7 separate regions of the Homo sapiens genome follow, and regions 1, 2, 4, 5, 6 and 7 are each linked to region 3. The links are contacts of gene promoters, found by promoter capture Hi-C in blood cells and fetal thymus (Javierre and others, 2016). All regions are on one chromosome and are shown on one strand. The core of a region is centred on a gene start or on the middle of the fragment in contact, and the rest is flanking DNA. Distances in the headings are between cores, read along the strand shown.

Region 1 (3,104 bases), core at 455-2,954, 160 kb before region 3:
GTATTCAATCTTGAAAATAAATTAGAGGCTTATTGGATATAAATCAATATTTTATTTCATTTAGGTCATAATATGACTTTAGTTTATTTAGGACATATCTCTTAACTGTTTACTACTTCTCTGCCTTTGGGATAAAAATGGAATCTCATATTGAAGTATTTACTAATTTAAGTCCAACTACATATATACATACATATATATACACACACACACACACACACACACACACACACACACACATATATATATATATATATATATATATAGCAGCCATCCCAACTCAAGGAGGCTCTTAAATGTTTCAAATACAGAAATTATAGATACAAAATATTACAACTACTCATGCAGAACTTTCAAAAATTACCTGGAAATACTTATATTGAGTTTTATTCAGTGATGGATTTACTTTGAAGAAAAATATTGTTTGTGGCTTAAGACATTTCAGCTAGACTATTTTTGAAGCTTACAAAATAGTGCTATAAATGCATCTCAAATTCATTTTGAGTCCTGAAGGAGTTACCAAAATGATGATTTCATACAGAAATAAATATGCATGGCAAGTTACACATGCATGTATGGCAGAAACATACATTTCCACATTGTGAAGCAATGAAAAACCTCACAAAGGTTATATAAATTTAAACCAATAAAACTATTTGCAGCACCTCTTTCTTTGTCTTCTAAACTCATTCCAGCTTTGGCTCCTTCTTTGTCTTTGTTCAGCCTCTCTCTTCCCTACAAATATGCATATAAAAACATTTTGGAAAGCAGATGCTAATAAACACACAAGTCTTAATATCATCACACATGCCATACCTTGTCCATGCGAGGAACTTCCACTATAACCTGGAACCATTCCTTCAGCATTAAAACATAGCTCAGGATTTATCTCTTCAAAGAAACTTTGACAGAATAACCAAAGTAATTTAATTCACTCCAGCAAGATTATCTTGCTAGAATCCAACACAGTTATATTTATATTTTGAACCTAACGAAAATATTTTATCAATATCCTTAAGCAAAAATCACTTATTAAATAAAGACTTAAAAATAGGCTTATTACTTTTATACATGAATGCGCCTTATATTAACCCTTGTTTTCAAAGCCCCAAACCCAGCTTCACTCTCCATTTGCTCAATTGTATATGGCCCATATGAAATTCCAAACTCACTCGCCCTCCCCCATGGTGATATAAGCACTGGTCCAGTAAAGATTCCTGAATAATAAAGTGTCAGTGATTGCTACTCTTCCCACTGTAGCATGGAGCCTTGATCCAAATATTTAAGTCATATTCTTCTAGAAAGTGTCAAATACTGGAGATACCACATACACATCTTAAATATAACGGGCAAGATGCAGGAATGAGACTAAGATCCACAGAACATAAGATTCATATTAGTTAGGAATAGAATCAAGTAGTTATGGAAACATGAAGAGTAAAACCTCTGACCGATTGCCAGAAATTCTGTATATTTGCACTTTGGTCTTATAGATTGGACATGGGACTAGAGACTTGATTATGGAATCAAAGACATGAGAGACTCAGAGTTTTTGAAAACTAAACACTACCAACATTTTATGATCTTCTCATAGTTTCTGTAATGAACATTACTCTACTAAGTTAACTAATATTTTGTCTAGAAATTTTGTATTTCAGTACTTAGTTCAATAAAAGCACTAAACATATGGTGCAATACATGTAGAATGTGATACAATATGAAACATCATTAGAAAGAGATTGATGTATGTATGCTGAAGTGGAAATTTTCATGAGAGGTTGAGTAAAAAATATGATGTTCAAGATATCATATATAAGATTATATGTTTATTAAATATAATATATAGAGGAAATAAATATTAAAAAGATATTCACAAAATTGTTAACATTGGGTACCTTTAATAGCATTAGTTTGAGTCACTAAGAATGGGTTTTTTTTACTTCATACATATTTTATTTCTTATATTTTTATTGTATAAATCACTTTTTAATAATATACTAACTTAAAAAATATAATAAATCAAAATATATTACTTAATAAATTATTTGATATTAATAAAATAGGAAACTTCCATATGCAGTTGCTATCAATATATCTTAAAACTTCATCTTCAGATATAAAATATCTTACTTTTAAAAATTATATAGATTACTATTATTTATAAGTTCAGTCTGGATTGTTCTTCCCTCAGTTTTTCAGTTTGAATTTACATAATATTCTCATGATCACATGTAAAATTTTCATGTGCCCTTAGCAACATATGTCCTTAGGGATAAGGGTGGAAAAACCCTGCAACTACTATTTGTCAAAATTCTCCTGTACGCTCCATGTTACAGCTTTATGAATTAGCTGCCTATCTCTGTCTGTCTTTTTCTCTCTCCCTAGCTCTGTTTCTCCCTCTGATTTTCACAGATGCCCATAAAACACACTTACATACCAAATTTTCCTCCAAGAACATACACACTATGCCAAAGGGACAGTTGAGAAGGAATTCAGTTGTCTGACAACAGCCCATCCCCAAAATAATTCTGGTCTTGGCACTGGTCCTGGCTCACTAGTTAAAATATCTTGCTTCTAAATATCTGGGCATTTTTTCTGCCATTTGATCTAATTTGGGGCCTCCAAAATTTATCTGAATTGTCTAATATTAAGTATCAAAAAGAATATAACCTAGTTCTTGATCCAGTTTCCCAAGAAAAGGCTTATTGTCTGCAATGCAAATTTGCTATTATTCAACCAACAACTTTGAAACTGTAAATTTAAAGAGTGCTGCATTTATCCATGTGTAAAAAAAATCACGTTAGAGACTTGCCCCCCCCATCCACCATCGATAAATAGAGACCTTCTTAATTTATATTTCACCTGTTTCAGTACAGGTGACAGAAACCAGGCCTGGCTAATTTACACACACAAAAAGAACTTACTAACAGCTAGATTTAAGCTTAAGAAGCAATGGGTAATATCTACATTAAGATAATTTTCAAATACTAATGAGAGCTAAAAAGGAAAACTTTCCTTTGTGTGGATCGGAAGACTCAGACCCAGTATTATACCAATTCTCTTGAATTTAATCTAAAAATTCAATGCAATTTTTATAATTTATC
Region 2 (3,340 bases), core at 187-2,686, 230 kb before region 3:
TCTAAAATTCTATGACTTTTTGCTAACCAAATAATCTTATTTTCATACGTCTTTCTTAATTAATCTTGAGCTAGCACATGCAAGCTGCTGGATTTAACTTAGAAATTAAGACTGTAGTGAAATGATTCACAATCTCTAAGTCACTGTAGATATGTTCATATGTCATTTAACATAAAACTATTTTTTACATTAATATAAAATACTCATTGTATTTATTTTACTACTAAATATGCAACTGGAGAAATGTCTGAAATGGCACACCTGTTCTCAATTCAGCAAAAAAGGTAAAATCAGAAACAACACACCTGTTACATGGTGTAAGAAAACTGCTGTGCTGAAATTCCTTCTCCGGGGGGGAGGGGGGGGAAGAGACGTGGTACATTTTATTTAATCAAAAATATTCATTGATTACTAAATCTGTACAAAATATTTTGCTGAGTGCCACAGGAAGCAGTACACAGCCTAGCCTTCAACTGACTTTAAAATTGATAGAATTGGCCGGGCTCAGTGGCTCATGCCTGTAATCCCAGCACTTTAGGTGGCCAAGGCGGGCGGATCACAAGGTCAGGAGGTCGAGACCATCCTGGCTAACATGGTGAAACCCCGTCTCTACTAAAAATACAAAAAATTAGCCAGGCATGGTGGCATGCGCCTGTTGTCTCAGCTACTTGGCAGGCTGAGACAGGAGACTCGCTTGAACCTGGGAGGCAGAGGGTGCAGTGAGCCGACGTCATGCCACTGCACTCCAGCTTGGGCGATAGAGTGAGACTCCATTTCAAAAAAAAAAAAAAAGAAAAAGAAAGAAAGAAACAACAATGATAGACTGGATTAAGAAAATGTAGCACATATACACCATGGAATACTATGCAGCCATAAAAAATGATGAGTTCACGTCCTTTGTAGGGACATGGATGAAATTGGAAATCATCATTCTCAGTAAACTATCGCAAGAACAAAAAACCAAACACCGCATATTCTCACTCATAGGTGGGAACTGAACAATGAGATCACATGGACACAGGAAGGGGAATATCACACTCTGGGGACTGTTGTGGGGTGGGGGGAGGGGGGAGGGATAGCATTGGGAGATATACCTAATGCTAGATGACGAGTTAGTGGGTGCAGCGCACCAGCACGGCACATGTATACATATGTAACTAACCTGCACAATGTGCACATGTACCCTAAAACTTAAAGTATAATTAAAAAAAAAAAAAAGAACCATCAAAAAAAAAAAAAAAGAAAGATAGATAGAATAAGCCAAGCATTTATCAGTTTCTTCTTCATCCATTTATTTATTCAAGATTTATTGATTTATTATTTACTATTGCCCATTGAGCTTGCAATCTAGGGCTAGCAGGCAAAGAACAGACCACAGATTATTAACCTAATATGAAAAATGCCAGGCAGATAATCCAAACTCAGATTGATTTCTCTACATGGTCAGTTCAAACAAAGCTCAACAAAAAGAGGTATCGTTTACCCTTGGACTGAATGCCAAAAGAAAAACAGTTTTTTGAAAAACAAGAAGGATGCTTTTGAGATATACCAAAATCTCTTGCAAAGAACCTGAAATTTTAGAAGGCTTTACCTGTCTGAGGAACAGTTAGATGATCAGTGTTCTTGTGATATGAGTTGACACTGAGAAGGTAGGCTGGGGACAGATCTGGTAGAGATTTCCACACATAAAATATCTGGATTGTATTTTAAACACTGAGAAAAACCACTGGAGATATTTAAGTAGGTGATTGTCATGACTTTTTTTCTTTTTAAAATATCACTCAGACTTTCCTGTGGAGAATGGATTGACAGTAAACATATCTGTTTGGTGGTTTCTTTGGTAAACTAGAAAAAAATAATGACACGTAATGGAATTAGGGTGGCGAAACTAGGGTGAAATTATGATGGCTTTGGAGATTGTTAAAGGAGCTGAAGTATAATAAACAGATTCAGGGATATATTTTGTGGGTGAGTTTGATGATACTTGTTTGGATTTTGAGGTTAGTTTGCTGAAGCTGAGAGGAGATAAGAAAAAAAAGACGATCTCTTGTACTTTGGCTTTAGCAAATATATAGACGATGATGCTTTTTACTGAAATAAGGAAGAGTCAGGGAGACCATGTTTGGGGTTTCAGTTTTGACCATATTAACTTAGAGATATCCTTCATATATTCATGTGGGGTTACTGAGAGGGTAGATACACAATTTGATAGTTAAGAGAAATTAGCCTAAGGTTCACTAATTAGTTACATTCATTTAAATATGCCAAGCATTATGTTAAAATAATAATTACATTATATATAGTTTAAATACAGCTATGTTTACTATGTTTTTCTAACTCCTTTTTTAAAATTTGTATTTATTTTTAAGTTAAAAGATAAAATAGGGCCAGGTGTTGTGGTATGTGCCTGTAGGTCCAGCTACTAGGGAGGCTGAGGCAGGAGGATAGCTTGAGCTCAACAGTGTGAGTCCATTCCAGGCAACATAGTGAGACCCCATCTGTTTAAAAAAGAAAAAGAAAAAAGGATAAAATTGTATATATTCATCATGTAGAACACAATGTATTGAAATATATATATATATACTTCATATATATATACTTCAATTCATATATATATATATATAGAGAGAGAGAGAGAGAGAGAGAGAGGAATGACTGGATCAGGCTAATTGACACATGCATTACTCCATATAGTTATCACTGTTATGGTGAGACTACTATAAATCCAGTCACTCCTTTGTAACTGACTTTCTAGCCCTTTTCATAAAAAGGAAGGGGTCAGGTATTTCATTGTGATGGTGAGAACATTGTATATTGAGTCACTCCTTCCAGTCTGGGCAACATAGAAAGACTCCCATCTCAAATCATAATAATAAGAAGAAATAAGAAATAAGAAGCAATAGATAAAACTGAGCTCTGATACACTCGGAGTAAAAATTGATGAGTGTATGAAACCCTCTATTTTATCTTATATATATATATTTCTGGGAACATTTTTACACATGTAGGATTATCTAACTTTATGGAGGAAGAAACTAGGGTCCAAGGGGTTGGGAATTAAAGAACACTCAGTTAGAAATTGGGTAGTTGAATTTGGAATGTGTGGAGCTTGGCCTCGAAATGTTTTCCCCACTGCACCCTAGCATCCCGGGAGTTTACTAGTTTCTTCATACCTGCTGGCAACAATTTTAATTCAGTCTTCCTTCCTTTAAGCTACTTTAATTCAGTCTTCTCTCCTTGAAGCTACTTTAAAAATCAATTTGTGATTCCCTATTATGTGCCTCTCTTTTTGCTTTCATTGAAAGAAGAGGTAAACAATTTGCTTCATGTAATTTTCTTC
Region 3 (3,144 bases), core at 391-2,890:
TAAACACAAAATTCTGGCCAATAAACTGACAAAATTATTTAAAAGTTTAAAAATAGAGATTTTCTAAAAATCAAAAACTACTTACTATAAACCCACCATATACGGGAGAAAAAAAGAGATATTTTATTTGCACAATGACATTGCAATTTGCATGGAAGTGCAATGACATATACAAATGAAAATAATATAAACACATAGAAACATACAATAAACAATTGCATGACTATGTACAGAATGAGTGGTATAACATTAAATATAAAGCATTCAGAAAAAAAATAAAAGTTGCTATAGTTTGAAATAGTCTACGAGGATTTAAAATTTTTTTCTCTATCCAAAGAGGGTATTTATGGGGTTGATTGGTTGTGAGTCCAAACCAAGGTTATAGAGATGGGGCAGCATGAGACACAAGAAAGAGCCTTGGTCAGATTTGAGAAACCTGAGCCTTTCCTTAGCCTGACTCTGCCATCAACCATTTATAACTTAAAATGACTCCTTTAGCTTCTGTGGCCCTCAGCCCTCTGCCACAGATAAAAGGTCAAATGAAGAATGTCTTCCACCCCTTTCAGTTATTCCATTACTGCATTTGTCTGTTCACCATCTCCAAATCAAGATATCTCTTGTTACTTGCTAAGGAAGCTTTGGGACCCTACACCTTGTGCTCTTAAATCAAGCTGACAAATGCAGGATCCCGTGGCTGCTTGCTTTCCATGTCTCTACCTCATGTCAGATTTATGTTTGGGACTAAGGGCAAGGTGTGTGACTATAAACCTGGATATCCCATCACAAAGGATTTACCATGCAGCTAAAAATGCCTAACGTACAGGGCTCACCAAATGCACAGGCCTTTTTAATGTCCCTGACGGTGGCCTCATGAACTCTCATTGTCATATATTTTTGCAGAATCTGTAGAAGTGAGATATTTCTGCATTACTTTTGCTTAAAGAGGATCCTCTATTCCAATTGCATAGGATCCAGGTTCATCAAAACTTAGATCTTCTCGTCATTATATACTTCTAAGTTCCTACTGTGTGAATAAGGGGTGCAAAAATCTAAAAAACTCCCGAAGACAAGGATATGAGGCACACCTCTTTGTAGGTCTGGCGTAAGGGAAAGAGGAAGAAAGGATTACATTCTACTCGTTTTTATCTCTCCCTGTTTGGTCTTAATCGGGTGCCAGCCCCTTAACGGAGGGTTGATCCCTGTTCCTCATCCCTATGCCTGCCTTGTCAAGGCCATTAACCGTGGATTGAGGTTTTACATAGTGGAACGCAGGTACTGTTTTGTGGGATTAGCATTTTTAGGACGGTGTTTGTGGTCACTCTCCCTGTTTCTTCCTCATGGGGTCCCTTAACAGGTTTTATGGTATAGAGAAGGAACTAAAGAAGTCCCCAAGTCACCCAGAAGGAAGATCAGACGTTAGAGGTTGCTTTACACATAGGGTGCCCTGTCCTGATAAACATCCGTCAGCGCTTGGCCAGGGCTACCTCTAAATCCACGCTGCTGGCAGCCTCCGCGCAGCAGGGATGAACTTCTGCACGCTTGGGAGTTCTGGCGTGCGCAGTGGAAGGAGGGGGCGAGGGCTGGGGGAGGAGATCGGAAGGGGAAAGGTAATCCCCGGCGTTTTCAGCATCCTCTTTTTAGAAAGACTGAGTCTCTCCCAGGACAGCTGCTGCGGTCACACCACAAACTTAAAAGCCGCCCTCCTGTTTGGAGCGTGCCTTTCCTCGCCACCCTCTCCTCCCCAAAGCTCCAGCTGGTGCCTTGCTCTCCGCCTGTCCTAGCGCGGCTCTCGGGGGAGGCAGCAGCGCCCCCTGCCTCCCGGCCTGGCCCCTGCGGCCGCAGCTTCCCGGCTCTGCCAGGGCTGCCGGCGGCTCCGCTTGCTCAGCCAGGGCTGCGGCTCAGAGGAACGCGCGCCGGTGCCCCGGGTTGCCGCGCCGCTGGACCTCAGCCTGCATCCCGTTCCCCTCTCCCTGAAAAGGCACCAGGAAAAGAGAGAGGGAGAGAAGAGTTCACAGCAGGTAAGTCTGGTTTGGGTCACCTGCTACTCCAGTGGGAGGGTGTGCTGGAGACCGCGGTGCTAAGCGGGGATAGCCGGGATTTGGGGGTGGCTGTGGGTCCGAAGTGGAGGACGAGCATGGTTTGGGAGATAAGGAACCGTCCTGAGACAGAGAAGGCTCCCGGGAGCGGACAGAGAGTGGGCGAAATCGGTGCGCAGTAATCGCGGCGCCAGCTTCAGCGCGGCCCCTGGGGCGCAGTCCCACCCCGCCTCAGCAGCTGCGGAGCCTTCTGACGAGCCTCCGCCTGGCAGCACTGCACAAAGTTTTCCTCCTGAGACGCGTCCAGGAACTTTGCTCTCTCCCTGGCTTCCTGGTTCCCCCACCACCCCTCCTGGTCTGGGCAGCAGAGAGCGTCTATGAATGTGTCCCCGGCTTCCGCAGGCTGCAGGTTCATTTGGAGACGCTTTAGTCGGGAACATCCGGGGAGTACTTGACCAAAGGGCATCTGCGCCCTCGCTCGCTCCTTTCCTTGTTGGTCTGGGAGAAGGGAAAGGGGCAAGGAAGAAGGAAGGGAAGCGTGGTGGTTTTTGTTGTAGCGTTTTGGAAGAGGAATGGGCGACGCCTTTTTCTTCGCCGGGGAATCGCGACGTTCCGTCTGATGGAAGTGTGCATCCTTTTAGATTTAGAGGGAAAGTTGGAGTCAAACAGCAGCCACAAAGCTGGCTGTCTGAAATGTGGTTAAGGCAAAACACTCGGGGGATCTCTTTGTAGTAGTGGGCTTGGCTCGCTTTGGAAAGGCCGGATTTGACTCGTGCTGGGCATTTAACCAGGAGTGCGGTCCCCAGGGTGTTTCCTCCCGGCTTCTGCCCAACGAGCCTGGAGTTAATGCGTTAATGGGCTACCCTGGTAGCGCACGGGCCGTTTTCGGCACTGTTTCTCCTTCTCTGATGACTCGAGTTCAACCTCCTGGGCTGAGTTGCTTTGCCTCCGTCACAGTGCAAGGAGGGAAGTTGACAGGAGGAGGAGACGCCGCGCTGTGGCAGGGAGCTTTGGGATCCAGGGGACTGGAAGAGAGCCGCGCGCCAGCAGCTGGGGCCGCTGGTGTCCGGGATTCCGAGTTATGGGGACAGGAGTTAAATAGCCGAAC
Region 4 (3,047 bases), core at 224-2,723, 180 kb before region 3:
TGATTAATCCTTTGGTGAATTTATGTAGCCTTGCAGTTTACAATATTTGAGTAGCTGTCTTTTATACCAATATCCTATCCATCTGAAAATATTCTGGACTTTACCTTTAAAGTATATTCAAAAAAGCAGAGAAGGAAGGTGTCCAACTAGATGCAGCTGGGGGAACATCTGCCACTGACGGAATGGGACACAAGGAAGACTGACAAACTCTGAGCACATCTTTGGAAGGAAGACATTGAGAGTGGATGGAAGGAGGAAACAGATTCTGGTCTGAAAGAGGAAGAAGCTGGGATCCCTGCATGGGGCTGTGTCACACTGGAATACATTCTTGGCCTCCGGTAACTCCTGGGGAAGGGGTGAGTTGAGCAGGCAAGGATTGGCCTGCTCTCACCATGGATCCCTGGAATCCTGCAGCAGGAGACCTCACAGTCACCATGGACATAATTATTTTAAAGTTCAGGAAACTTCAATAAAATAGAGGGAAACAATTCAATGAAATCAAGAAAGTACTAAAATATGAAACTTGGAAATTTAACAGATAAATTAAATTAAAATAAAACTCCAAAAACAATTCTAGAGCTGAAAAAAACTCCACAATTAAAATTAAAAATGCAGGAGAATATCAACATCAAAATTGATCAAGCAGAAGGAAAGACCTGTGAACTTGAAAACAGGTTATTTAAAAATACAGTCAGAGGACAAAAGATAAAAAAGAATAAAAGGGACTAAAGAAAGCTTACTGGATTTATAAGACAGCATTAAAAGAGCAAATATTCAAGTTATCATTGTTTATACGAAGAAACAAATGCTTGAGTTATAGGGTTGTGTGAAGAAGAGAAACAAATTATTAGAAAGGTTATTTAAAGAAATAACAGCAGAAACCTTTCCAAATTTGGAGAAAGATATACATATCCAAATACAAAAAGCTTAAAAGTCTGAAATCAGATTCAATTGGAACAAGATTACGCCAAGATATAACAAAACTGTCAAAAATTAAAGACAAACAAAGGATCTTGAAAACATTCAGAGAAAAGAAGCAAATTAAATATAAGGGAGTTCTAATAAGACTAGCAGCAGATTTCTCAGAAGCAATTTTTACAGGCAAAAAGAAAATGGGATAATATATTGAAAGTGCTAAAGAGAAAAAAATAACTGTTAACTAAGAATATTGTATCTACAAACTCTTCTTCAGAAATTAAGAAGCGATAAGACATTTCCCAGACAAAAACTGAGGGATTTCATTATTAGCATATTACAAAAAAATGAGAAAGGAAGTTCTTCAAACTGAAAGAGAAGATGCTAAATAGTAACACAAAAACATGAAAGTATGAAACTCACTGGAAAAAGTAATCACACACTCTAATACTGTAATGATATTACATAAATCACGTATCTCTTTAGTATGAAGGTTAAAAGATAAAATTATTAAAAATAATAGGTACAATAATTTGGCAAGTGACATACAATATAGAAACATTTAAGTTGTGAAATCAAAAAGTTAAAATATCAGAACTGATGCTGGAGTAAAAATGTAGTTTTTAAATGAAATCAGTATAAATTCAGTTTAACATAGCTTTTTATAACTATTAGTTGTTTTTTGTAAGCCTCATCATAACCACAAAGCATAAACCTATAGTAAATACACAAAAGATAAAAATAAAGGAATCAAAACATTTCACTAGAGAAAATTACTTAGCCACATAGTAAGACAACAAAAGAGAAAGACTGAAACAAAGGATGTACAAAAAAGCCAGGAAACAATTTTTTTAAATGGCAGTAGTAATTACTTACCTACCAATAATCACCTTATTTGTAAATGGATTAAATTATTCAATCTAAAGGCATAGAGTGCTGACTAGATGGAAAAACAAGACCCAACTTTATGCTGTCTACAGGAGACTTGTTTTACCTGTAAGGACACACATACACTAAAAATCAAGGGATGAAAAAAAGATATTCTAAGCAAATGGAAACCAAAAGAGAGCAGTAACTACACTTCTATGAGATAAAATAAGCTTTAGGTCCAGCTAAATATACTGAAAAAGGGGTCTATTCTGGAAGAAGATACAACAATTATAAATATACACCCAACATTGGAGCACCTAAATATATAAAGCAAATACTAATAAAAGGAGAATTGGACTGTAATGCAATAATAGTAAATGACTTCAAGGCTTTACTCTTAACAATGAAGAGATTCTCCAGGGAGAAAATCGTTATAAAAACATCAAATGTGAGCTACACTTTAGACCAAATGAATCTAACAGACATATACAGAGCTGTCCATCCAGCTACAGAATACATATTCCTCTCAACTGCAGGTGAACTGTTCTCCAGGATAGATGATATGCTAGTCCACAAAACAAATCTTAAAAAAAATTAAGAAGATTGAAATTATATCAAGTATCTTTTCTGACCACAAAGGTGTAAAACTAGAAATCAATAATGGAAGCAATTTCAGAAAGTTAAAAAGTACTTGGAAGTTAAACAACATGTTTCTGGAAAAACAATGAGTCAAAGAAGCAATTAAAAAATTAATATATATATTGAGACAAATGACAATGGAAACACAATATACCACAACTTATGAGATGCAGCAAGGGCAGTTCTAACAAAAAAATTTATAGTAATAAATACTTATATCCCAAAAGAAGAAAGACTCCAAATAAACAATCTTTAGTACACTTAAAGTAGAAAAACAAGAATATACTAAGCTCAAAATTAGTAAAGAAAATAATAAAGATCATGACAGAAATAAATAAGAGAGAAAAAATAATATAAAGGATCAACAAAACTCAGAGTTTTTTTTATTTTTGAAAAGAACAAAATCAGCAAACCTGTGGCTAGACTAACTACTAAAAAAAAGAAGACTCAAATAAAATTATAAATAAAAGAGAAGATATTACAACAATTCACATAGAAATACAGACAATTATAAGAGACTACCATGAGCAACTATACACCAAAAATTGGATAACCTAGAAGAAATGAATAATTTCCTAGACACATGCAACTACCAAGATTGAATTATAAATAAATAGAAAATT
Region 5 (3,409 bases), core at 842-3,341, 250 kb before region 3:
CTTCATTATACCTTACACAAAAATTAACTCGAGATGGGTTAAAGACTTAAACGTAAAACACAGAACCATAAAAACCCAGACAGTTTCATTTTATAAAATATTTTCAACCCTCCCCTTTATCCCAGAGGGGTTTTCTTCTTTTTTGAGAAAATAAAAAACATGATAATTTATGTATCAATTTATAAATTACCTTTGTTTAATTTCAGCAAAAATATAGTATACATCCAAATCACTTATAATAAATATAGTTATTAATAAGTTAGCTTTCTATTTTTTGTCCATTCTATTGGAGATAACAGGAACAATCTTGGTTTGTCCACTAGTAATTCTCAGTAACTTTTACACATCTGCAAAAAACCCCATTCTCACTGTCTCTGGGCTCCACACTAGGTCTTATTTGTGCACATCCTTAATCTCATGATTAAAACAACAATGAGAAATTTGAATTCAAAGACATTCTGTCATGCTTTGCTCTGAGACTCCTTTACATGTCTAATTTGCCTTCTGCTGCTGAAAATGAAGTTTGCCAAGAAGGAAAATTTTGGAGACTATAAACAAGGGCAAATATATACAGTGGGGGCAATCAAACAACTGAAAAGCAGGTATGGTTCTAGTCTTTCTTTTGGAGTACATAAAGAAGTACTAAATATCTTTTGTTTTTCTTTTGTTGTGCAATACTTAATAGTTTTGCTCTTTATATTGCACTCATCCTTTATTAAAAAATTGATGTTCGCTGGAAATCATATGTTGCTGTTGAATCACATGAAAAATAATCGATCTGTGTGTATGTGTGCCTTCTATTTAAGAAACAAAAAATATTCCGTTGAAAAGGCTTTCTGATCCTTACCTTCTAACCTTTGAAACAAACCCAGAATTTTCCCCTAGAGTGCTAGGTGATATAAAAAAATTAAAGCATAATTATAGTCTCTGCTGATTTAGGAGTTGCAGTGTAATCTCAATTCTTTAGTAGATCGTTGGGCTCCTTGAAAATGTTTGACTGTAAGAAATTTGTTCAAAGTTACATTAAACTTCTTTGGACTAACTAAAGAGTCCTTGGTTTTATTTCTGAGAGTCAACTCTAGGGAAATTTAAAATGCTTTAAACATATGGTTGAGTTGGTTAGTTATAAAAGCCACTTTTGCATGGGGGTTTTACCCAGTGTCATTCCCTGTGCAATATGGTCCACAGGAGCCATACAATAAATGAATTCTCTGTCTGCTTGTTCTATTTCTTCTTAAATTTTAGTTTCTTTCTGGGAAGAGAAAAACCTGTTCCATATGTCTGGGTAATGCTGCTTTGGAGGCATTCACAGAGAGATAATAGGCACAGTTTCTTTGTATATACACGTAATTCTCAGTAACTTTTAAACATCTGCAAAACACCCCACTCTCACTGTCTCCAGGTCCCACATTAGGTCTTGTTTGTCCATATCTTTAATCTCATGATTAAAAAATAATGTGATTGAAATTTGAATTCAAAGACATTCTTCCCTGAATTGCTTTGTCCTGGTGATGGTGGTGTCTATGTCCTTGCAGTCTCTCTCGGGTACAAAGCACAATAATTAGACACAGGATAGTTCGTCAGCATAGTTACAGTGTGTTGACAAAAATAAGAAACAAATGGAATAGCTTCAGTCTTGTGGAGAATGTGAACATCAATGGAGAAAGAAAACTAACCAATTGATAACTGCATTTGCTAAAAATGATTTGGGACAATTCTTTGTTTTTATTTTTGTGGGTACCTAGCAGGTGTATATATTAATGGAGTACATCAGATATCTTGACACAGGCGTGCAATGCATAATAATCATATGATGGAAAATGGGGTGTCCATCCGCTCAAGGAATTACCCTTCGTATTTCAAACAATGCAGTCATATTCTTAGTTTTTATTAATGTAAAGTTAAATTATTTTTTACTATAGTCACTCTGTTGTGCTATCAAATACTAGATCTTACATGTTCTTTCTATTTTTTGTACCCATTAACCATCCTCACCTTCCCCCCCAACCCCCACACTACCATTCCCAGCCTGTAGTAATGATTCTTCTACTATCTCCATGAGTTAAACTGTTTTGATTTTTAGATCCCACAAATAAGTGAGAACATGTGATGTTTGTCTTTCTGTGCCTGGCTTATTTCCTTTAACATAATGACCTCCAGATCCATCTATGTTGCTGCAAATGAAAGGATATCATTCCTTTTTATGTCGGAATAGTACTGTATTGTGTATAAATACCACATTTTCTTTATTCAGTCATCCGTTGATGATACTTAGGTTGCTTCCAAATCTTCACTATTGTCAACAGTGCTGCAACAAACATGGGAGTGCAGATATCTCTTTGATATAGTGATTTCCTTTATTTTGGGTATACACCCAGCAGTGGGATTGCTGAATTGTATGGTAGCTCTATTTTTAATTTTTGAAGAACCTCCAAACTGTTCTTCACAGTGGTTGTATTAATTTACATTCCCACCAACAGTGTACAAGGGTTCCTTTTTCTCCACATAATTTCCAGCATTCGGTATTGCCTCTTTTGTCTATAATCCATTTTAACTAGAGTGACATGATATTTTATTGTAGCTTGATTCACATTACTCTGAGCACCTTTTCTTACATCTGCTTCCATTTATTTGTATGTCTTCTTTCAGAAATGTCCATTCAAATACTTTGCCCATTTTTTAATTGAATTATTAAATTATTTTCCTATAAAGTTGTTTGAGCTCCTTATATATCTTGGTTATTAATCCTTTGTCAGGTGGTATATTTGTCCATTTTCCCTCTGCTGATAAAGACATACCCAAGACTGGGCAGTTTACAAAAGAAAGAGGCTTAATAGATTTACAGTTCCACATGGCTGGGGAGGCCTCACAATTATGACAGAAGGCAAGGAGGAGCAAGCCACATATTACATGGCAGGCAATGAGAGAGCTTGTGCAGGGAAACTCACATTTTTAAAACCATCAGATCTCATGCAACTTATTCACTATCATAAGAACAGTACAGGAAAGACCCACCCCCATGATTCAATTAACTCCCACTGGGTCTCTACCACAACTATGGGAGCAACAAGATGAGATTTGTGTGGGGACATAGAGCCAAGCCATATCATTCCACCTCTGGCTTCTCCCAAATCTCATGTCTTCACATTTCAAAACCAATCATGCCTTCCTGACAGTCCCCCAAAGTCTCAACTCATTTCAGCATTAACTCAAAAGTCCACAGTCCAACATCTAATCTGAGACAAGGCAAGTCCGTTCCTCCTATAAGCCATAAAATCAAAAGCAAGGTAGTTACTTCCTAGATACAATGAGGGTGCAGGCATTGGGTAAATACAGGCATTCAAAATGGGAGAAATTGGCCAAAACAAAGAGGCTGCAGGCCCAATGCAAGTCCAAAATCCAGTGGGGC
Region 6 (3,068 bases), core at 511-3,010, 140 kb before region 3:
AAATAAAAATAAAAAGTTTTATTGGAAAAAAAAAAATCTGACACTAATTATAAGCTGAGTGATGCTGCTAAATCTTTCCTTCCAAAACAATGTTCCATACACAAACATTTGAAAATAAAATCAGGAAGAAATAATCATCCACAATTATTTTTTGCAAGCACTTTTTAAATGAATAACTATCATTAACTATCATAATTAATATGTAAAAAGTTATGCTCTTCATTAATAATTTCTTAAATTTGGGGTAACAATCAAAATATACAATGATAAATAACCCAAAAAAAAAAAAAAAGAGTTTACCTTGCACTCAATTTTTGGACAACTATCACCCTGTTCACATTGGTTCCTTATTTTATAAATATGGAATTAGTATTTTAACTTTTAATGAAGATTATATATTTATCATTTATAGAAATCTAGAAAAGTCATTAACTGTAGGTCTTAATTTCCACATCTGTAAAATAAATATGCTGGACATTTTTCATGATGATGGTGAGATGGAGTCCCCAGCATCTGTGGGAAGTTGGATGAAAGTTGGCATGACAAATTAATTTTATTATGGCAAACATCTCTTGAATTTTTTATAGAGACAACATTCATTGAGACTTAAGCATAGATTTAAAATGAGAAGAATGCAAAATCAACTACACAATTATTATAAAATTCCAAAACTGATTGCTATGATTGCCCTATATCCTCTATCACAGTACATATCTCTTTGACCTACTTCCAGCATTCCTGAGATAATTATTTATGAAACATATGCATGGAATATAAACATTTGAATCAACCACATAAAATCATTCTAGGCAAACAAAGTCATTTTGGATAAAAATAATTTATGTGTGTTTAACCACTGTAGGTGAAATCACGGATGCTGTGCCCATGATCCTTGTAAACAAATAGGAAATACTTGTTTTCACATAGTCCTATCTAAACTCAGACTTCCCCACTTGAACAAGTGATGCAGGCTGGCTGTGTTTATCCTATCACTGTATATAATTTTTTGTATAATTGTCACTTTACATATCGTCATTATTTGTTTACTTTTTAGTCTGACCCACTAAGTGGTAAGCTTCTCAGAACCATATTATTATTTTCCATTATTTATTTAAGGCAGCCATGAAATTACTCCATCCAAGCATATGCCAAAAGAATTTTTTTAGAAGTGTTTTTTATTTGTTGCGCAAATTTTGCTTGTAAGTTAGAAAGTGTTTTAAATAATTACTCTAACAATATATTTTAAAAATATCCTCTTAGTGAGAGTTATTCTGTTAAAAAAAATGCCACAAATAAAACAGTTGAAATTGGTTCCTTTAGTCTTCTTGAACATAAAAAGGAGGTAAGTTCAATCAGATATAAAATGACATTATTTTCTTTTGTGAAAGCTCAGATGTAGTACTTGTTCCAAGTGCCATATGTCATATTGGGAAAAAAATTTGTTAACAAATATGCTGCTCCTTAAGGAAAACACCTGAAATAACATTGCTTTACACTGGCGTAAAGGTAATCCCTCTAATTTTCTTTAGGAACTGATTTTCTATAAATTTAGTAGGAAAAAAATGTTAGGATGATGTTATTGACAGAGTAAGACTTCACATGTCTTCATGTAAAGCCAATGGAGATAAATGGGGTTCAGGCCAGAAGAGTGGTGAATATTAGCAAGTAAAAAAAGCAAAAACTTTACTTTTTTTCACTTTGTAATAAGCCAAATATTTTATCAACTTTTTATAATTTTTAGTAATATGATTTTGATAAGAACTGTGGCAAATATTAGCCATTAAAGTATTATGCTGATTTTTTTCTACATTTATGTTTGTCAATCAAGCTCTGTCTTTTCAATTATGATAAGATTAAGAAGGTTAGAAGTCATAATATATTAAAAGTCTTTCCTGAATTTTAGTTCAATTATCCTTCATTATGAGAGTAACTTCTGAAATATCTTTCAACTTCTGAATTGCCTCAGTTTTGCCAATTGAAAAGGTTAAATGGAATGCGAACTGCTAAAAGAGAATATATTACTGTCTTGCAAAGAATATGAACAGAAAAAAACCTGCAAATAACCATGTTTGATTAATAGATGAATTGATCGATACATTGTTAAGACACTGTTGGTATCTTAACTCAATAAAATGTTGAGATTATTTAGAGTCTGTCATTGAGTCTCATTTTTTTTCACTTTATAAACCCTCACTAAGTTATTTGTACATTCCAATCATTTAAGCTGCTAAATACACATATGAATGACTATACGAATCTCTGATCGTATTAATCCATAATGTTCAACATTTATGAATTACAATACTTGTTGCAATGTCTCCTAGGCACTCAAATCTCAACATGTCTCATGCTGAACTCAAAAATTCTTTCTCTTGAAATCTATTTGTTTTCTTGTATTCACTCATTGTCTGTTTAGATGTCTGTTTTACCAAAGTATAAGCTTGTTGAGTGCAAAATCTGTTATTGTATTTACTTTACCTCTATGTATAGCCAACACCAGAACATTGATAAAATGAATAAACATTGAAATGATAGTCTAGAAACAATCCAATCCTGTAGCCTCAAACTCATCATGGTATTTCCTCATTGCATTGCTTCTGATTCATCAGTTACTTTGAGTGTTTCATTTGTTTTTCTTAATTGTTGTTTTACTGAGCCCGGGTCAAGGAATATTAAGGTGAATTAAAAAGTGACAGTGGTATTATGCGTATTGCTTGGTGAAATAGACTAATTTTGGCATGATCTTTGTCAAACCTGAGGAGATCTGTGGCCTGGAAATCTAAGATTAAAGTCAAACTGTCATGTGGGGATCAAGACAATGATGGGATTGGGGCTTTTCTGGAGCAAAGAGCCCAAATGGTAAAAAACAACAGCCAAATTAAAAAATAATGAGATATAAATTCAGCGTTTACAAATTAATTGCTATGTAAGACAGGGTGAATCATAAAAGTTCTTCCAGAGAGAGGTATTTTCTCTATGAGAAGATGCCTTCATGACATCATGGAATTGTAGGAACTACATCTCTGGATAGAGGACATGTGTGTTTATATCTTAACTATGAGTAGTTT
Region 7 (3,292 bases), core at 179-2,678, 160 kb after region 3:
TACCCTGTTTTCTCTTTCTGCCCCACCTAAACTATTTTACTTGAGCTTTAGCATGATTCTAAATACACTCTTTTCCTAAGGAGCTGATGGTTCTCAGAATATATGTATTTCTTAACCTCATACATTAGATTTTAATTGTAAACTATGCTGATCCCATTAAGTAAGAGTTTTAAAAGACATGTTTTATAGTTGACTTTCAAACATAGGTGTAACTGACCAAAGAAAAAAATGTAATTCAAAAATAATATCCAGAACTTTCTATTAATTTGTCTAGTGTTAGACTATGATAGTCTTACCAAAGGAGACTGAAAACTACAGAGTATGATGCAGGAATTCTCTCATAATGTCTCACACTATCTTCCCATTTGTGTACCTGAGGAATGTAGCTAACATCTTATTGCTATTGTTTGTTTCATTTAAGCAAGTCTTTCCTAATTAATTCAAAATCTGTGGAAAACTTTTGGGGATATCTCATTATAGGCATCAGTGGCTCACTCATGTCTCTCTATCATATTGAATTCACAGTTTTATTTTCTCTTTAATATTTGCTCACTCCATCACCTTCCACTTATTGGATAACAATTACTTTATCATCTCTCTAAATTACTGAGGATATCTCTAGTTCTGTTCATTCATTCCTGGTGTTGGTTCTAGAAGGGAGAAGCAGAGGCAGGACTAGACTCTGGATATCCTGAGTCCAGATTCCTAAAACAGATTACACTAAAGGACACGTATCACAAAATATCACTATCATTTCCCTTTAACTGTGTGTAGGCCATGTTTCCCTAAAATGGAGATAGTCAAGGGGCTTCCAAAAGGAATTAACCTTCCCAACTGGCTTTCAGCTTTATTTTCCAGAGGGCAAACAATTTGCTTTTAAAATGAAGTTCTTCAAATCCCAGGCTATTTACTATGTTCAATAGTGTTTTGCTTTTTCTGGCATAGAAATTCCTTTAAGAGAAAGGGAACCTTAAAGAAAAGGAGAGGGAGAGGGAAGGAGAGAAATTACCTCTGTATGTTTGCCCCGGCCTCTTTGTCTCTGATATTTAATACAGGGTCTTTCCTTGCCTTTATCTGTTGTAGGTTGACTCTTCGATGAATAAGCAGGGGTATAAGACGGCAACTGTTACATTTGCATTTTTACTCTATAAATAAAACTCAGGCTTCTGAAAATGAAAGCCTAGTTCAGTCTTTCTTTTGCCATGTCTTCCCTCACATTAGTCATTCCTCTGACTTGTTTCAAAGGAAACTGCAACCTGTAGAGAATAGCCTGAAGCTGCGGGGAGAAAAAACCTTTGACAGCTGTCTGGGGCTTTGCCAAGGGGAAAAGTTCTCTCTTTGGATAAAAACCATTTTTCTCCTCTTATCCATTGCTTCCCATTCCACTACTAAAGGCCCTAGACAAACACGCAGACTTGCCAAGCATAACATGATCACACCTAGCCAGCTATGGCAGCCAGCCATGGGAGATAGGCCCTGAACCAGGGCTGGTTGCTGTTGGGTTTCCACTTTCATCTCAGGGTGTGTCTAGGCAGGTTCTATTTTCTCTTCTTCTTTTGTGCTGGTATTAATATTTCCAGCACAAGAGAAGAATACTGTCTTTGAGTATTTTACAACAGCGGGTAGAGACACAGATAAGTTTCCTGATTTATTTCCTACTCTCCTAGGAGCTAATCTGGCAAATTAAGAAAACTGGAGGCAGAAATAAATGTCCCCGTATGGTATGTTCAGGTGGGCTGTGTTAATACCTAGAAATTAAAAGTACATACATACGGAGAAAAACCCACTAGATTTCTAATACCTGAGATGTATAGCTGCCATAGGAGAATTTTCTAGAATTTGTTAAAGGAAAATAACTGAATATGAATGACCATCCGCTTTAGATGTATCATTTCCCTACACTTTCTCTTTTCTTTTACGAAATTTTTCTTTCCTACTTTACTCTTACCTACATACATTGCTTGGCATCTCATTATTTTTAGATCTGTGTGCAGCACAGCTATATGATATCAACGCAAAAATTCCACTGGTTTGAATGTACTGAAATAACAATATTTGATTCAAACTGTACTATCCTAAACCTCAGAGAGTAACTCTACCAAATCATTTTCATTTGTGCAAGCATAGTGGAGACGCAGACCTGAGATATCATGCATAGCAATTGAGAGGATAAAGATCTTGTCCAAACACTGGCAACATGCCATGAGGAAAAGCTGCCATAAGAAAAAATATATATTTTCAAAGATCATTTTATAGTCAATAGAAACCAGGTTTTCCTTCCTTTTTTTCCGCCTTAGATTTTATTACACTTAAACCATTTTTGTCGGAGCAATGAGGAAAATTCATATTTATTTTTTCTAAGTGTTCATATTTTCATTCAGCTATACTTTCTTGCATTAAAATTTCTAATTATTTAACAATTTGATATCAAAAACTACGGCTTGAATGTCATGATATTATTTCTTTGAAAACTTTGGCTACTGCACAACTACAGCTGCAAAGTCAAAAGTGATTTTTTCTTAAGTTGGAGGGCTTTTTAAAAACTGTGTGCAGGCAAAATCTTGCTCTGGGTTTGATTTTAATGATACACCAACCAGATTGAACCATAGGCATTATAAGCCTACTATGAATTGTCTTTGACTGAGCCTCAAACATGCAGCCTATAATTGGACAAGAGCTTTGTATCATTTGAGCTCCATATCCATTTTGAGTCCCTGCTTAATCTATTTAATGCAAGGTTCTTCCATTATTGAGTTGACGGATTCCGCTTGGCTGAAGGTTAAGTGCTGGAAATAATGACTGAACGTGCAGACTTAGATCTTTAGACCAACATCCAGTTAAGAATATGTTAAGTAAATGCAAAGTGGATAATATTCTAGGACGTTTCTAATCTCTCTGGTACAGACCTGGGACAAATAACTAAATATCCAGAAAGTATCAGTTTCTTAATACCAGACATTGAAAATTTTTGTTAAAGATAAAGATATTCTTAAATTATTTATAGAAAAACATTAACAGACTTTTAGTACAACCTCTTTGATATTTCTTCTAATTCATAATAAGCCATTATGATTTTATTGGTATAAAATTTGGGGTCAAAGTCAAATATTGGGACTAGTTCTAGTATCTTCAGCTCCCTAAGAATGACCCTCTTGAATATTTTGAGAAGTACATTATGTTTTTGGAGCCTTGTCATGATTCTAATTAGTGCCAAGTTTAAATGGTTCAGTTCCATGGAGACTGTTTCCAACTTCTCTAAAAACTGAAACAAAGAAAAGCACCATTAAAAAAA

The links. The method cuts DNA at HindIII sites, captures the fragments that hold promoters and counts their contacts. A CHiCAGO score of 5 or more calls a contact.
Region 1: a fragment that was not itself captured here is called in contact with the fragment with the promoter of SEMA3D in region 3 in 2 of 17 cell types (total B cells and naive B cells); the score reaches 6.3 in total B cells.
Region 2: a contact is called between a fragment that was not itself captured here and the fragment with the promoter of SEMA3D in region 3, in 2 of 17 cell types (total B cells and naive B cells). The highest score is 12.0, in total B cells.
Region 4: a contact is called between a fragment that was not itself captured here and the fragment with the promoter of SEMA3D in region 3, in 2 of 17 cell types (naive B cells and total B cells). The highest score is 8.5, in naive B cells.
Region 5: a fragment that was not itself captured here is called in contact with the fragment with the promoter of SEMA3D in region 3 in 1 of 17 cell types (total B cells); the score reaches 6.0 in total B cells.
Region 6: a contact is called between a fragment that was not itself captured here and the fragment with the promoter of SEMA3D in region 3, in 2 of 17 cell types (total B cells and naive B cells). The highest score is 12.2, in total B cells.
Region 7: a contact is called between a fragment that was not itself captured here and the fragment with the promoter of SEMA3D in region 3, in 2 of 17 cell types (total B cells and naive B cells). The highest score is 5.9, in total B cells.

What each region holds. Positions count from the first base shown.
Region 1 is chr7:85,347,126-85,350,229 of GRCh38, reverse strand. No RefSeq gene overlaps it. Among named protein-coding and RNA genes, the nearest start is that of LINC00972, 72 kb to the left of the region's middle. The HindIII fragment of the contact is 2,479 bases long and covers 465-2,943 here.
Region 2 is chr7:85,416,450-85,419,789 of GRCh38, reverse strand. No RefSeq gene overlaps it. Among named protein-coding and RNA genes, the nearest start is that of LINC00972, 3.0 kb to the left of the region's middle. The HindIII fragment of the contact is 5,665 bases long and covers 1-3,340 here.
Region 3 is chr7:85,185,552-85,188,695 of GRCh38, reverse strand. SEMA3D (semaphorin 3D) reads left to right here and starts at 1,640. Exons shown (of 19, transcript NM_001384900.1): 1 at 1,640-2,018. RefSeq lists a silencer at 1,769-1,828. The HindIII fragment of the contact is 2,551 bases long and covers 639-3,144 here.
Region 4 is chr7:85,366,273-85,369,319 of GRCh38, reverse strand. No RefSeq gene overlaps it. Among named protein-coding and RNA genes, the nearest start is that of LINC00972, 53 kb to the left of the region's middle. The HindIII fragment of the contact is 1,089 bases long and covers 929-2,017 here.
Region 5 is chr7:85,435,073-85,438,481 of GRCh38, reverse strand. The region is part of intron 1 of LINC00972 (long intergenic non-protein coding RNA 972); the gene reads right to left. Among named protein-coding and RNA genes, the nearest start is that of LINC00972, 16 kb to the right of the region's middle. The HindIII fragment of the contact is 6,012 bases long and covers 1-3,409 here.
Region 6 is chr7:85,326,635-85,329,702 of GRCh38, reverse strand. No RefSeq gene overlaps it. Among named protein-coding and RNA genes, the nearest start is that of LINC00972, 93 kb to the left of the region's middle. The HindIII fragment of the contact is 1,365 bases long and covers 1,078-2,442 here.
Region 7 is chr7:85,023,573-85,026,864 of GRCh38, reverse strand. The region is part of intron 12 of SEMA3D (semaphorin 3D); the gene reads left to right. Among named protein-coding and RNA genes, the nearest start is that of SEMA3D, 160 kb to the left of the region's middle. The HindIII fragment of the contact is 9,941 bases long and covers 1-3,292 here.